4 separate regions of the Homo sapiens genome follow, and all the other regions are linked to region 1. Evidence: promoter capture Hi-C in 16 types of primary human blood cells and fetal thymus (Javierre and others, 2016). All regions are on one chromosome and are shown on one strand. Each heading gives the region's core, a stretch centred on a gene start or on the middle of the fragment in contact. The rest is flanking DNA. Distances are from core to core; before and after follow the strand shown.

Region 1 (3,731 bases), core at 865-3,364:
TAAAGCCTGACTCTGCCACTTAGTCTAAGGGTTAGCTGTTACTATTTTTATTGCTGAGTAGCAGAGTAATTGCTGGACTGCAGACTGTACACTGTCTCATCCCCTGTGAACCTCAGTTTTCTCATCTGTAAATAGGGATACTAATACAGACTTACCTTAGAGGCTTGCTGCGAGGCTTAAAAGAGATGATTAGAATTGCTAAAACTTATCGAACACAGGCGCCAGACACTATTATAAGTACTGTGCGTGGGTTAATTCCCTGCATCCTCACAAGAACATTATTCAGTGTTATCCCCATTCTAAAGTGTAGGAAACTGAGGCACAGAGAGGCGTGTGTCCCGCCCAAGGTGACATGTTCACTAAGGAGCTGAAGGCAGGATTTGAAAGTGTGTGTCTGCTCCAAGCCCAAGGTTTAGGCACCACACTGCACATCTCTCATCTAGGGCACTTAGCACAGAGCCCAGTACATAGAAAGTTCCCAGTAAATGGCAGCTCTTAGCTATCAGAGAGAGCTGCTGGTAGAGATTTTAAGGACCATTAGCTAAGAGATGCTATGGACACTGTGAGAGGAGGTCCCCTTGAAAGGCTCCAAGAAGGAGGATCCAGAAAGAGGGAGAAGCAGAGAAAGTGATGTTGAAGGACTCACCTAAATGACATGGCCCAATGTGGTACTACTACCCCAAAGCCCCAGGGAGTAGGCAGGAAAGTGGGGTAACTCTCCTGCCAGACCTGGACATGAAGTTCCCCATCATCAAAGACACCTTCCTCCTAAGACAGCCCTGCCACTCAGAAGGGCTCTGCTGCTTAGAAAGTTCTCCCTAAAAGCACAGAGCAAAACCAGATTGTTTTGGGTGTGTCAGTGAGCTTTCTTTTTCAAGAATCCTTGGGAAATAAACATTTTAAGGAGATGTTTTTCTCTGAAACCAAAAGAAGAGCCAGGCATGGTGGCTTATGCCTGTAATCCCACCCCTTTGGGAGGATGAGACAGGAGAATCATTTGAGTACAAGAGTATGAGACCAACCTGGTAGAGACCCCCATCTCTAGCAAAAAAAAAAAAAAAAAATAGCTGGGTGTGGTGGCATGTGCCTGTAGTCCCAGTTACTCAGGAGGTTGAGGTAGGAGGATCGCTTGAGCCCGGGAGGTAGAGGCTGTAGTGAGCCGTGATAGTGATCGTGCCACTACATTCCAGCCTGGGTGCTGGGTGACAGAATGAGACCATGTCTCAAAAAAAAAAAAAAAAAAAAAAAAAAGAGAAGAAGGAGGAGGAGGAGGAAAAGGGGGAAAGAAAATTCTCCCTCAAACCCAGGTAAACTCTGACTTCTTGTTTCTTAAGCCTTTGACACCTCTTCCCCTCGGGACCAACTTGATTCTTCTCCCACAGCCTCTTGCTCAGTTTGAGCTGTGAATGACCAAGTGCCTTTTTAAGGGCCTCCTTTGTACGTGGATCTGGAAGGGAGGACGGTGTTATCAGAGAAAGAGGACAGTGTTATCAGAGAAAGAGGACAGGGGCCCTTATCCTGAACCAAATAGAGGCACCAAGCCTTTATCTCCTTCCTGGGTCTGTATCTGGGAAGAACCTGCCCCTCTTGAGCCTTGGGTGTGTTTCATCCCTCAGCTGTCTCCTAGAAGGAGCTCTTGCTGGGAGCCTGAGCTGGCCAGGGCCTCTCTGCTTTCCTAAGGAGGTGGCTTTTTAGAGTACCTGCTGTCCCATAAGTGGCTCCCGACACCAAAGCCATGCAACATCTAGAAAGGCCCCCTTTCTCGTCACTCCAGATTCCTTTTCCTAACACTAAAATCCTCTTGGACTGGTCTTTGCAGATCCACAGGAGGAACGGTTTCTTCCTCCCCTCCTTGCCTTCCTCCCCGCTCACTCCACCTCCCCACTAACCCCTCAGAGCAGCCAGGGAAAGTACATTTCCTTCCCAAGAAGATGATCCAATTTGTTCCCAAGAAGAGGCCCGTTGCCCCAACCCAGCTTCAGACTCAATAAGCACACTCCGAGAAGAACAAAATGAACCTCAACTTAGCACCCACCTTTCCAGCTCCTCCAAGAGAGCTTTCTCTCCTGAAAAGAGAGCTGCACCCAGCCAGCCCAGGAACGCAGGCTGTCCCTGGAGCCTGGGCTGTTAGCGCGAGTGCAGGAGGCCAGCCCAGAGGAGTGGTCAGCGTGAGGGAGCCAGTCATTGGGCCAGTTCAGGGAGGAAAAGCAGGCCAGACCTCCCCGGGTTGTAGAATTGCTTCGCCTCCACCTCCTCCCGCTCTGTCCCCACCTCCTCTGCCCCTCCCATTTTTGGGTTTTCGGGCCAAGGATTCCATTCCGCGACTTCACCGGCTTGTAGCCAGTGACCTTCAGCACACAGCAGGGGAATAAAAATGAGAAAGAAAATCGCCTGTTTGGAGAGGTGTACAATGACCTCTTTATTGAGAGGCCCTTTGCTTTTCTGTAAGTCAATAACTTATTGACTTATTTTTGCTGCATGGAAATGGGCACCTTGCAAATGTGCGTGGCATTTGCTCCAGAGCTGTGCTGTCATACCTATGAGAGCAGAGCAGCGGGTGGGTCGTGATGACACACTCAGGCTGCAGAGTCCCAGCCTTGTCACTTCCTATCTGTGTACGCCTGAAGCAGCTGCACCACTCCCTGCACCTCCTTTTCATCATCTGTAAAATGGGGGTGTGAGGCTGTCCACCCCGCACGCCCACCGTGAAGATCCAATGAGATCATTACTCGCCCAGTGACAACACAGTGGCTGGCACTAGCCGCACTCATAAGTAATCATCATTGTCATTGTCGTTACCGTTATTATTAAAGAGATGAAGGAGTCTTTTTAAAAAATGTGTTGTCTGGGAGAACTAGGAGTGTTTCCCTCCCGACGTCTGTCCTTTTTTTGCTGCCATGAACTTTTCTCAATCATAGCAGCCCTTTCCAAAAATAGAAGCTCTTCTTTCCCAGAAAAGCCCATGTGGGAAAAACCAGGCAGCCTGCTTGCTGGCCTGCCCGTCCTCCTGCATTCCTGCAACAAATGTTTATTGGGTGCTCATCCATTCCAGTCACCATGCTGTATGCCGGGCACCCACAGCTGCATGAGTCACCTTGGGGGTTCATACTCTGGGGACGGAGACAACAACGTCAGTAAATGCATCCAGTACAGAGTGGGGAGCGCAGCGACGAAGAATGAACAGGGCCTCGTGAGGTCCCAAACACCCGTTTCGGTGGCAGGAAAGCTTATAAAAAATCTAAATCTCTGGATCCCACCCCAGGATGGGTGACTTAGTTACCAGCAGGAGCTTCCTAGAATCATCTTGGAAAAACTCAAACTAATGATCTTTATCCAGGGACAGGCATTCTGCGAGATAAGAGGGAGACTTCCCAGAACTGAGACTCCAGCCCTTCCACCCTACCGTCCTTCCTTCTGGCCCGCTGAGAACTCAGGCACCAGTAGCTCAGTCTTGCACCTCTGCATTCTGTTGGTAGGCGTAGTTATCCTCAACTAATGAGTTTTCAGAGTTCCCCATGCCACCCACCACCCCACCCCCACCCTGCAACAGTCTAGTTCCTTATTGTGAATCTTTCTTCCCATTTTTAAAACATTTATATTTTCATTCAGTTCTTGAAATCCTAATTATATACATTCATAGCTACTATTTTAAATGGCACTTGCTTCACTTGGCCTAATTTTATTTCGTTTAAGGTCCAAGAAAGCACGTCTCCGTTCTGGTATTCTAGGAC
Region 2 (3,731 bases), core at 885-3,384, 240 kb after region 1:
TTGGTTTTGTCTTCCCATATGCTCATGAAATTTGGGAAGGATTACTAAAAGTTCTTAGTTAGAATTTACTTCATTTAAAATTTTATTCTCAGATGTAGCATTTCTTTTTTTTTTCGAGACGGAGTCTTGCGCTGTCGCCCAGGCTGTAGTGCAGTGGTGCAGTCTTGGCTCACCGCAAGCTCCGCCTTCTGGGTTCACGCCATTCTCCTGCCTCAGCCTCCCAAGTAGCTGGGACTACAGGTGCCCGCCACCACACCCGGCTAATTTTTTGTATTTTTAGTAGAGACAGGGTTTCACCGTTTTAGCCAGGATGGTCTCAATCTCCTGACCTCGTGATCCACTCTCCTCGGCCTCCCAAAGTGCTGGGATTACAGGCGTGAGCCATCGCACCCGGCCAGATGTAGCGTTTCTAAGCTTCTTTTCAATAGGGTGTTTATAGGTGTGCTGTGGAATACCTGAGTGGCTAAATAAATTCAGAAGCTATTTGGATAATACAAAGTTTTAAAAAGCCTTTTACGAAAGGGTTTTTCTTTTTCTTTTTGGGGGTGGGGAGGGAAGACAGAGTCGCGCTCTGTCAACCAGGCTGGAGCGCAGTGGCATGATTATCGGCTCACTGCAACCTCTGCCTCCCGGGTTCAAGCGATTCTCTTGCCTCAGCCTCCCAAGTAGCTGGGATCACAGGTGCCCACCATCACACCTGGCTAATTTTTTTTTAATTTTTAGTAGAGACGGGGTTTCACTATGTTGGCCAGGCTAGTCTCGAACTCCTGACCTCAGGTGATCTGCCCTTCTCGGGTTCCCAAAGTGCTGGGATTATAGGCGCGAGCCACCACACCTGGCCCCAAAATGCTTTTTTGATGGCATATAAACAGCATTTGTGCTGTAATGTAGTATTGAGGCTGTTGGGATAATCGTTTTGTCCTCTTGTGTCTGGTCTCTAGTTTCTCATTTCCTCCAAAGTGCATAGTATATTTTTATTTTTATTTATTTTGTTTTATTATTTATTTATTTGAGATGGAGTTTTGCTCTTGTTGCCCAGGCTGGAGTGCAGTGGCGCGATCTCGGCTCACCGCAACCTCTGCCTCCCAGGTTCAGGTGATTCTCCTGCCTCAGCCTTCCGAGTAGCTGGGATTACAGGCATGCGCCACCATGCCCAACTAATTGGTATTTTTGGTAGAGATGGGGTTTCTCCGTGTTGGTCAGGCTGGTCTTGAACTCCCAACTTCAGGTGATCCACCCGCCTCGGCCTCCCAAAGTGCTGGGATTACAGGCGTGAGCCACTGCACCTGGCCATATTTTTATTTTTTAAATCACTATTTAAAATTGTCATCATTCTCAGATAACATAAGCGTATTGAGATTCTATCAGAAATATCAAATGGCCTCATGGTTAAGGACCCGAAAGGTTTTTCTCTGAGACAACTTTGTGCGGTATTTTCTGTGAATCCCACAGCTGGGGAAAGGAAGGGAGTAAGCCGAAGGGTTTTCAGATGTATGCTAGAGTGTCTTTCATGAAATAAAATGCTGCTCTAGTTGTCAGCTGTTTTTTTGCATACCATTGCTTCTTTAAGTTATCTTTAGATTCCCAGTCTTGAATTTGAAGAGTTTTGGGGAGAAGGTAGCAGAAAACCTAACGTTTTGTTTACATTTCATTTGTTGTATTTAGTAGTAGAGCTGGTCTAAAGTAAATATTACCTTCTCATTTTTGTGAACCTTCATTATTTTTACTTGGTAAGTTAAATGCAACTGCGAAATCAGTACTCCTTTCTTCATAAATTTGAATAGCCTCCATGAAATTGAGTAATCTCATAAAAATTTAAAACTGGTTTTTAAGAACATATTCTGACCACTAAATAAAAGTGCTTCTGTAGTCACATGAGTTAATTTGGGAGGGAGAGAGAACAGTTTAAAGTGTTGCCTAGATAGTAATTAGATAAGAGTGATTGTAATTAAATAATTTTATTTTTAATTTTGCTTAGTAAATTTTTTTTTCAACATGCAGTGAGTTAATTGGTAAGGTCCAGATTAATTTACTAACATATTGCTGCTTTTGGAGTTAAAAATCTTTTCTCAAATCAAAAACTCCTGAACTGTCTGTCTTTATTCTCAGTATTGCTAATGACTAAGCAGATGGCTGCTGTTGAAACTTCTTTTCCTCCACTACCTGTTTCTGTTTATATTCTGATGAATGCAGATAAGTTTTGTGGCATTCTCAGCTGATAGTGTTGACTTCTTGGAAGTTTGGCAAACCTCAGGGAAAATTTTTATTGCAAGTTTTAAAGCTGTTTAGGACTTTATCTAAAAACTTAAGTGTTACGGGATTTCTTCCACATTTTAGAGATGCCTTTATATCCTACATAGTCATCATTTTGTTTTAGCTCCTTGCATACTTAGCAGATTGGGTAGTCTAATCTCCAGTAAAGTTGGAATTGTCATTTTAAAATACTGGAATCACAAAGCAAATGTCTAATTTAAGCACTTAATTTTTAATGTGTGAAATCTGGATATTTTGTGATTTCTGAGCATTTATTTTTCATTTATGTACAGTAAAATTAACAAAATTGCAGATACTCTTAAATGTTGGAATCCTAGTTTTATATTATGTTCAAATGTTTTTTAAGTTGGAGAGCTCTTAATTTTTTATTTGCATGCCAGCAGGGGGCATTCTAATCTAGATACAACATTTGAAAGCAGTATTTTCAAAAAATATTTGTTCGCTTTGTTATATTTTTTATTTAGATGAATAGCATCTACTTTCATTTTCTTTTAGAAACTTGAGATTTCAAAGGAGGATCTAGTAACATTGAATCTTTAATAGTTTTCTGTGTCACAATTTTTGAGACAGATAACCTTTAAAAAAAACTGATGTGTTTGAAATAAGTGAAAAGTAATTTATTTGTTCTTACTGTGTTTAAGAACGTTGTGTTTTTTGATATAGAGACACAGTTGGACATTAAAAAAATATAAAGTAAATGTCCTAAAATTCTTCCTCACCGTTTAGTATCATTGTCCTTTGAAAAAAACACGCACTTTGTTGACAAGGGTAGCTTCTGATTGGGTCATTTATTGGACAGGCTGCCTAGTGTATAATAAGCGTTTTACATACTTCTGGGTTTAATTGAATTAATACTTCAATAAAATTTAGAATACATTTGTCCGCAGTGCTGCCTTCCATTTTTAAGTTCCTTTGCCTCTCCCAGAGCTATCATACATAATCTGTCTCTCTCTTTTTTTCCGTCTTGATATTCATTATGTCTCCTCTTGAATGCACATGTGTTAGAATATAGTCATGTGCCACATAACAACGTTTTGGTCAAGACAAACTTCTCAGATAGCTGTGGTGCTGCTCCCGTAAGATTATAGTGGAGCTGAACGTAACCTTGCAGCATCACAGCACAACACATTACTCACTGCTTTGTGATGATGCTAGTTCAAACAAACCTACTTTGCTGCCAGTTGTTTTAAAAGTACTATATAGTATGTACAATTATGTCCAGTACATAATAATAATGATAATAGGACATTGTTAGTGGTTTTTGTATTTACTATACTACATGTTTTATCATTATTTTAGAGTGTTCTCCTTCGACTTAAAAATGTTAACTGTAAAACAGGCTTAGGCAGGTCCTTCAGGAGGTGTTCTAGGAGAAGGCATTGTTATCACAGGAGATGACAGCTCCATGTGTGTTACTGGCCTTTGGAGACCTTCCAGTGGGTTAATACGTTAAGGTG
Region 3 (3,731 bases), core at 312-2,811, 230 kb after region 1:
TATATGATTTTAGAGAATCAGCATAATTACCCTCCCTTTCAGATATTTGTTAGTGACAAGTTACCCCCAATTGCAGAAGCAACCTAACTAAAATGTAATAATAGTGCAGCCACCAATATTCCTTATCAGTTTTACTGTACTGATACTGTGCAGAAAACTCCATGTTTCCTGTAGCATTAGAGTTTGATAGGCGTTTGGAAGCTTTGATGTAAACCAGTTATGCTCTTCTAGCAGTGGATTTCCATATAATATGGTGAGCACTTACATTTTTCCCATGGTTCTTTTCCAGTTAAGTGACTGGAAAACTGTAAAATTGGGGAATCCATTAGCTTATATTGATAATGGAACTGGGGGAAAATGTACTGCCGTCATGGCAACCAATTTAACTTGTGCTTGGGGGTCCCCCAACCCTTTGGCTGCCCTTAACGAAGTGGTGCTGCTCTAGGTCCTGTTAAATTTGAGACTGGCAGTTCTTAAAATTGATTTTAAGATGGTACCTAAGGTGCTACCATTGTGCATACTGCTCCTGAGGGGGAAAGGATAGGATTACAAAAGAGTTGGGTGCTAAGAGTTAGGTTCTGCTGGCTTATAAACCAAATTTGAATTGAATTAAATAAAAGTACAGCTTCAGAGTTACAAGGGGGTATGATTTCCACTTGATTTTGCAACTCAAATTATGTAAGAATTTAAAAGTTACACTTTCTTAGAAACGTTTGTTATAAAGTAGAATTTGTTGTAAGTTGGATTTTTTAAAATTGCATAGAGAAATACTTCATGATGGGATAGTCACACTGTCGAGTGTATTCCTGATTGTGTCTACCCAACTTGGGTGTGTGTCATATCAGTATTACACATAACTGTTCCTTGGTTTAGAGAGCTTGTGTTGTTACAAGTTTTGAATCACAAGTCTTATAGTCATTTGCCTAATTGGATTTGGTTTTAAATCATTAGAATGAGATAAAGTGCTTTATGTTACATATACTTGATATGCAGGCAGAATAGAATTAATTTAAATGTGAAATTATTTGATAGATTCCACAGTGGTGTGTGGAGTACATGCGATCATTACCAGGACCCAAGAGAGGAGTTGCCTGTACCCAACCCAGGAGAGTGGCTGCAATGAGTGTGGCTCAGAGAGTTGCTGATGAGATGGATGTGATGTTGGGCCAGGAAGTTGGTTACTCCATTCGATTTGAAGACTGCAGTAGTGCAAAAACCATTCTTAAGTAAGTACTATATCTTTAATGACGCTTTTAGTCCTCTGCTTGCCATTTTCTGCTATTAGATAGAAGACTTTGCTAGTGCAGGCTTATGTCATCCAAATTTAGAATTATCCAAAGTAGGCCTTCTTAGACTTACCACATGACCTTAGTTTAATTATATATTATTGGTAATCTATAGTTACTTGGTAGAAATTGAAGTTCAAAGGTCAGATTTTAGTTACTTGGTTCTGCATTTTAGGTGAAATGTTACTGATACTGTAAAATGTGTGGTTTTAGTAGACACAATGGTGTATGACTTAATTGTGAAAGAAAAGGAAAGTGATATGTCTTACTTAGTAAAAGATAACTACTTTTAGAAAGAAGAATGTATAGGATGGGATGTGATTTATTTAGGGGAGAGGGGACTTTTAATGTTAATTATGCAGCTATTACCGTGCATCTGTTATAAGCTAAAAAGAGGAATCTTTTGTTCTGTAATACACTGTTAGAGCTGCCTCTAGGTCCTTGTTCCTCTATAGCTATGGTGCAGATAATTGACTACTGTATTGAGCTTTCTAATGTTTTAACTCTACCAACTTTTTATTGTCTTATACTTGCATTCTGCATAAGTTATGATGTATGCTACCTGATGATGATTCTTTCTCAAGTCTTCCCTCTGGTTGCTTCTGCTTATTCTGTATTTATGTGATATTTAAGTCCTTTTAAATGTGACTTGTTTGAGTGGGGCTCAGTGGCATATGCCTGTTTATTCCCAGCCACTTCGTAGGCTGAAGCAGGATTATTGCTTGAGGCCAGGAGTTCAAGGCTACAGTGTGCTCTGATCATGCCTGTGATAGCTACTGCATTTGAACCTGAGCAACATAGCAAGACCACATTTCTTTTAAAAAAAAAGAAAAATCATATCTATGTGATCTTCTCCCTGAGGTTTTTAAAAACCATTTTGGAGCGTTGTGTAGGCAGTGATATGAGTCTTTGTTGTCAGAGTCTTTGTTGTCAGAGAGATATATAGTGTTAATGGGATAAATGAAACAAGAGTCTCTCTTTTTTTTTTTTTTTTTTTTTTTTGAGATGGAGTCTCACTCTGTTGCCCAGGCTGGAGTGCAGTGGCGCCATCTCGGCTCTCTGCAACCTCCGCCTCCCGGGTTCAAGCGATTCTCCTGCCTCAGCCTCTCAGGTAGCTGGGACTATAGGTGTGCGCCACCATGCCTGGCTAACTTTTTGTATCTTTAGTAGAGTTGTGGTTTCACTATGTTGGCCAGGCTGGTCTCTAACTCCTGACCTCATGATCCGCCCGCCTCAGCCTCCCACAGTGCTGGGATTACAGGCGTGAGCCACTACACCCAGCCGCAGAAATTGAATAGAATAATGAACTGCATGTGTTTATCATCGACTTTTAACTATTTCAGTCTTATTTATTTCATATCCAATCTTAATTTATTTCCCTGTCCCATGTTATTTCGAAGCAGTCTTAGATACCAAATAATTATATATATAAATATTTCAGTGTGTATCTCTGAGATAGTTTCTTAAAATAGAGCTATCATAACTTAAAACAATTTATTGGATCAAAATATCCAGTTTTCATTCAACATTTGTGTCAGTTTTTTCTAATTCTTTGATTTATCTCATTTTATTAGAACTTTTTATTCAGCGTGATATTTAATAGCAGTTGAACTTTAAAATATTTAAATAAGCTTATCCTTATGACTTTATGGGACATATTTTTGGCTTAAACCTTAATCTTCACTGAATAAATTCTTGTAGTTGTTCAGTGATACGTTATTGATCACTGGTAATTACAGTATAATTGACAATAATTGCATAAGCAAAATCATAGCTCATTATGTTGTATTACTTTAAAATGCAGGTAATGTCAAGGACTTGAGGATAATAAGGGGGAGATTTTACTCATCTTTAGGAGGAATATCATTATTCTGACTTGATTCACATTGCATTGAATTTTTTTGGTAAGCCACAGTTGAGAACAGAATTTGGAAATTGGGATACAAGAAAGTTATGCAATATTGGTGCTGTGTGTATGTGTAGTAGGAAGTGGGTGGAGGATAGGCTTTCAAAAGATGAGTACCTCTGAAAGATTTTGGTTCACTTCATAGGGAATGACAAGTAACAGATTTTATAGTTCAAATGAAGTATTTTTGGCATTGTGATTTTTTTAATGGAGCATTTTCTAGAGGTTATAACTACTTGTAAAAGCTTACTTAAGACAGGGTAAGCTTATTGGGGTTTCTTCTAGGAGCTAACCTGGTGTTGCCTTTAAGTAATATAAGTAAAGGAGTGTATTATTACAATAAGTTAGCTTAAAATTTAAAAATTTCAAATGTAACTTTGCTATTTGATAGGAAGAACTTAACTAATGGGAATGCTTCATTAAATGTAGCTCTTATCATATATAGATATAAAATGCTTATATATCCATTGTGTAGCCAGGGCGAACTTTAATTTTCACTCTAGGGTGGTAAAGAGGCTAACTTAGGCAGATTATGTTTG
Region 4 (3,731 bases), core at 715-3,214, 190 kb after region 1:
TCCTGTAGCTGCTGAGTTGGGCCCGTTCCCATCTACTCTTTAGCAGTACTTGATCACGGGACTGGAAAGAGTGGCGTGGCTCTGCTGAGTTCACAATGCTGTTGTTGAAAGCAAGCTTATGCAAAACGTTACGAATTTGTCCCAAGTGAGTAACACAATGTTTAATAGTTGACTTCTTATTAAGGGGCACCCTAGTAACCCAAAAGGGTCTCTCATGTATCATTTCACAGGACTTAACCTAATCCCACATCTGGGGAGGTCATTCTTACCCAGAGCAATGCAATGCCAAGTACCTGAATTCATTTTGGTTGAGTTTCCTGGCACAGTTTGGCAATAACTGTTTTTAGTGCTGGATTTTCCTTTCAGTCTGTCCAGAAGACTGTGGTCTCCATGCTGAGTATAGTCTGCAATTTATTCCAAGTGCCTTGTTTACCTGGAACAACTGCAGGCTCTTGTAAGGGCAATCAGTTCTGCCTTCTGTGCAGAGGTTCCTAGTGGTAAAGTCCTGGCTTCTGTGACCTCTGAAAACGTTACCATTACATATATAGCATTTCTTTTTCTGTCGGTTACCAGGCTGCTCCCATCCATGAACAATGTCCAGTATGCATATGGCAGGGCTGTGTCCTTTAAATTAGGGTGACTGGAAAACACCTTAGTCAATAATTGGTAAACATTATGCATAAGTTCTTTTGGCTCTTCGGTAGAGGGAAGTAAAGTAGCTGGGTTCAAGGCTCTGGTAACCTGCACTTTTACTGTGGGTTCATCTAGGAGTGTGGCCTGGTATTTGCTCAATCTGCCCACTGTCAGCCAGTAGCCTCCCTTTTGTTCTAGTAACACTAGTACTTGGTGAGGCACGTAGACAGTAACAGGCTGTCCCAAAGTCAACTTTTCAGCCTCCTTTAATAGTAGGCAGGTGGCAGTGACCGCCCTTGAACAGGAGACAGCCTTTGGCCACATTATCCAGTTGTTTAGGAAAGTAAGCCTAGTGGCTGCAAGATTTCTCCTAATTTCTGTGTTAAGGATCCCCAGTGCTAGACCCAGTCTCTCATGCATGTACAATTGAAAAGGCTTATGAGGATTTGGGAGCCCCAGGAATAGGGTGGAGGTTAACTTACATTTCAGTTGTCCAAATGAGTGCTGGTGTTTTGCTCCCAATCGAAGGCATCATTGTTAGGTCCCTTAACAGACTGTATAGCGGCTTCATTGGTAGTTCATAGTTAGGAATCCAGATCTAACAAAACCCTGCCTTGCCTAGAAATCCTCTCAACTACCTTCTGGTAGTGGGTGCTGCAATGGAAGCGATTGCATTTTGTCTTTCCACTATTAGAGCTCTAGCTCCCTCCTGCAAGAGAAAATCTAAGTATGCCACAGTTTGTTGGCATATCTAAGCTTTTTTACTTGAAACCTTATACCCACGGGTGGCTAGGTGGTTAAGAGTTTTAATGGTGTTATTCTGACATTCCCATTCAGAGAGGCTAGGTATTAGTAAATCACCCACATATTGTAACAATACCCCATTTTCCAATTTTAAACTCTTTAAATTTCAAGCCAAGGCTTCCCCAAATATATGTGGAGAGTTTTTAAATCCTAGTGGGAGTGCAGTCCAATGATACTGAAACCACGTTGCGGCTTCAAGATCTATCCATTCAAAGGCAAACAACAGTTGACTTTCTGTGTCTATGGGTATGCAAAAGAAAGCATCTTTTAAATCCAATACTGTCAGCCATTTATAATCTCCAGGAAGAGAAATGAACTTAGTATATGGGTTAGCTACAGTGGGATGTATGTCCTCTACAATATCCCAATTAGGGTCCCTGTGGGGAATTGCCGCCCCCGGATCTGTGTTGTCTGAATTTTCATGATGAAGTCATTGCGCCTCTTCCTTCACTTTATTGAAAACCAGCTGCCGCTCATCTGCAGTGAGCATAATGCTTAGGAGAGCCTGCACATCTGCCCAGGTGGGCACTGTGTAGCAAATACAGTGGTATTATAGGCCCAATAATGTTGGCTGGAGCTCCTTGCTAATTGACTCCTACTGAATATTGTTACAGTGGGAACTTCCCTGCTCCAGACTCAGTGACTCCCTGGCCAAAATTAGTACCTTGCCTAGTCCTAGAGGGAGACAGTAGCCCTGCTGCCTTCCTGTACTCTATGGGTAGCATTCCCTCTCTTTCCTGAGCTGCGGCAGTAGCCACTATGGGGTTTAGGGTATTCATTAACTATTCATTAAATTGGGTTTCAAAGGCTTTCTCTTCCTCCCCTTGTGAGTCAGGACAGACTTGGCAGTGCATTGCCAAGTTAGCTTATTTCCTTTTTCCTTAGCAACATTAATGCCCAGATGTAAGGTATTTCACCTCATTTACCTGACCTCTGGTAGAACAATTCTAATTGATAAATGGTATGAAAATTTAAAGATCCAAAAACTGGCTACCATTTCTCAGACCCCAAAACATACATTGGCCAAGATGTGTTACAACAGAAGATTAACTCTTCTTGTCATTAGCAGATAACCAACGTGCTTCCAATCTGACAAAGCTTTTCCCAGAGGACTATTTGTAGGGATAGATGCCCTGTTGCCCATACTGACTACTCTAAACTTAATATCAGACCAACAGAACAAATGAATTTTCACAAACAAATGCAAATAGGTCCTCTAACTTTGTAAAGTGGGTGTATTAATCAGGGTTCTCTAGAGGGACAGAACTCATGGAATATATAAACGGGAGTTTATTAAGTATTAACTCACACGATCACAAGATCCCACAATAGGCCGTCTGCAGGCTGAGGAGCAAGGAGAGCCAGTCCGAGTTCCAAAACTGAAGAACTTAAAGTCCAATGTTCAAGGGCAGGAAGGATCCAGCACAGGACAAAGATGTAGGCTGGGAGGCTAGGCCAGTTTCTCTTTTCACTTTTTTCTGCCTGCTTGTATTCTAGCCACGCTGGCAGCTGTTTAGATTGTGCCCACCCAGATTAAGGGTGGGTCTGCCTTTCCCAGCCCACTGACTCAAATGCTAATCTCCTTTGGCAACATCCTCATAGACACACACAGAATCAATACTTTGTATCGTTCAATCCAATCAAGTTGATACTCAGTATTAACCGTGACCGGGTATACAAAGGAGTCCTATTGTTTCCTCAACAGTACTGAAAAAAATGGCTACATGAGCTCTAATAGAGAAAACAATAGACCCCCAGCTTTCCATCAGGTTTTACTTAACCCTTTGAGCAGCTCCATTCCCAGCCTCTGTTGTTCCCCAGTAATAGAGAGACAGGGGGTCTTTGCATCCGGGAAGGTCCTTGGGAGACTCCCCAGGACAAACCGTACCTGGCAGCTGTTGGGAGTCTCCCGATGACTGTCGACTTAGAAGCCACTGGCCACTGAGCACAGATCCATCCCTGAGGAGTCACCAGAATTGTTCCTGGACAGAACAAGGTCTGGCTGCTCATTTCTGTGATCCAATAACAAGATGCAGACAGACTGGGAAAGAAGGGAGTTTATTTCTGCAACCGGTTACAGAGAGAAGGTCGAAGTAACTCACCATACCAACTCAAAGTTACAAGTTTTTTGCTAGTGCTGACATACATTTTAAGCTCCATGCTACATGTAGAATTGCATCTACAAGCAGGAGTGTTTCATTCACTCTATATCTAATCTTTAACTAGGGTCTAGGGTCTGGAAAGCTTTCTCTGGAGTCTTGGAAAGTTTCTTAATCAGTTTTTTTAAATTTATT

The links. The method cuts DNA at HindIII sites, captures the fragments that hold promoters and counts their contacts. A CHiCAGO score of 5 or more calls a contact.
Region 2: a fragment that was not itself captured here is called in contact with the fragment with the promoter of SOD3 in region 1 in 1 of 17 cell types (M2 macrophages); the score reaches 5.2 in M2 macrophages.
Region 3: a contact is called between a fragment that was not itself captured here and the fragment with the promoter of SOD3 in region 1, in 2 of 17 cell types (M2 macrophages and M1 macrophages). The highest score is 6.1, in M2 macrophages.
Region 4: a fragment that was not itself captured here is called in contact with the fragment with the promoter of SOD3 in region 1 in 1 of 17 cell types (M1 macrophages); the score reaches 5.4 in M1 macrophages.

The regions. Positions count from the first base shown.
Region 1 is chr4:24,793,956-24,797,686 of GRCh38, reverse strand. SOD3 (superoxide dismutase 3) reads right to left here and starts at 2,114. Exons shown (of 2, transcript NM_003102.4): 1 at 2,036-2,114. The HindIII fragment of the contact is 8,707 bases long and covers 1-3,228 here.
Region 2 is chr4:24,550,602-24,554,332 of GRCh38, reverse strand. The region is part of intron 5 of DHX15 (DEAH-box helicase 15); the gene reads left to right. Among named protein-coding and RNA genes, the nearest start is that of DHX15, 32 kb to the left of the region's middle. RefSeq lists an enhancer at 575-1,143. The HindIII fragment of the contact is 3,436 bases long and covers 417-3,731 here.
Region 3 is chr4:24,568,149-24,571,879 of GRCh38, reverse strand. It overlaps DHX15 (DEAH-box helicase 15), which reads left to right. Exons shown (of 14, transcript NM_001358.3): 3 at 1,033-1,226. Among named protein-coding and RNA genes, the nearest start is that of DHX15, 15 kb to the left of the region's middle. The HindIII fragment of the contact is 2,716 bases long and covers 204-2,919 here.
Region 4 is chr4:24,599,827-24,603,557 of GRCh38, reverse strand. No RefSeq gene overlaps it. Among named protein-coding and RNA genes, the nearest start is that of DHX15, 17 kb to the right of the region's middle. The HindIII fragment of the contact is 1,146 bases long and covers 1,392-2,537 here.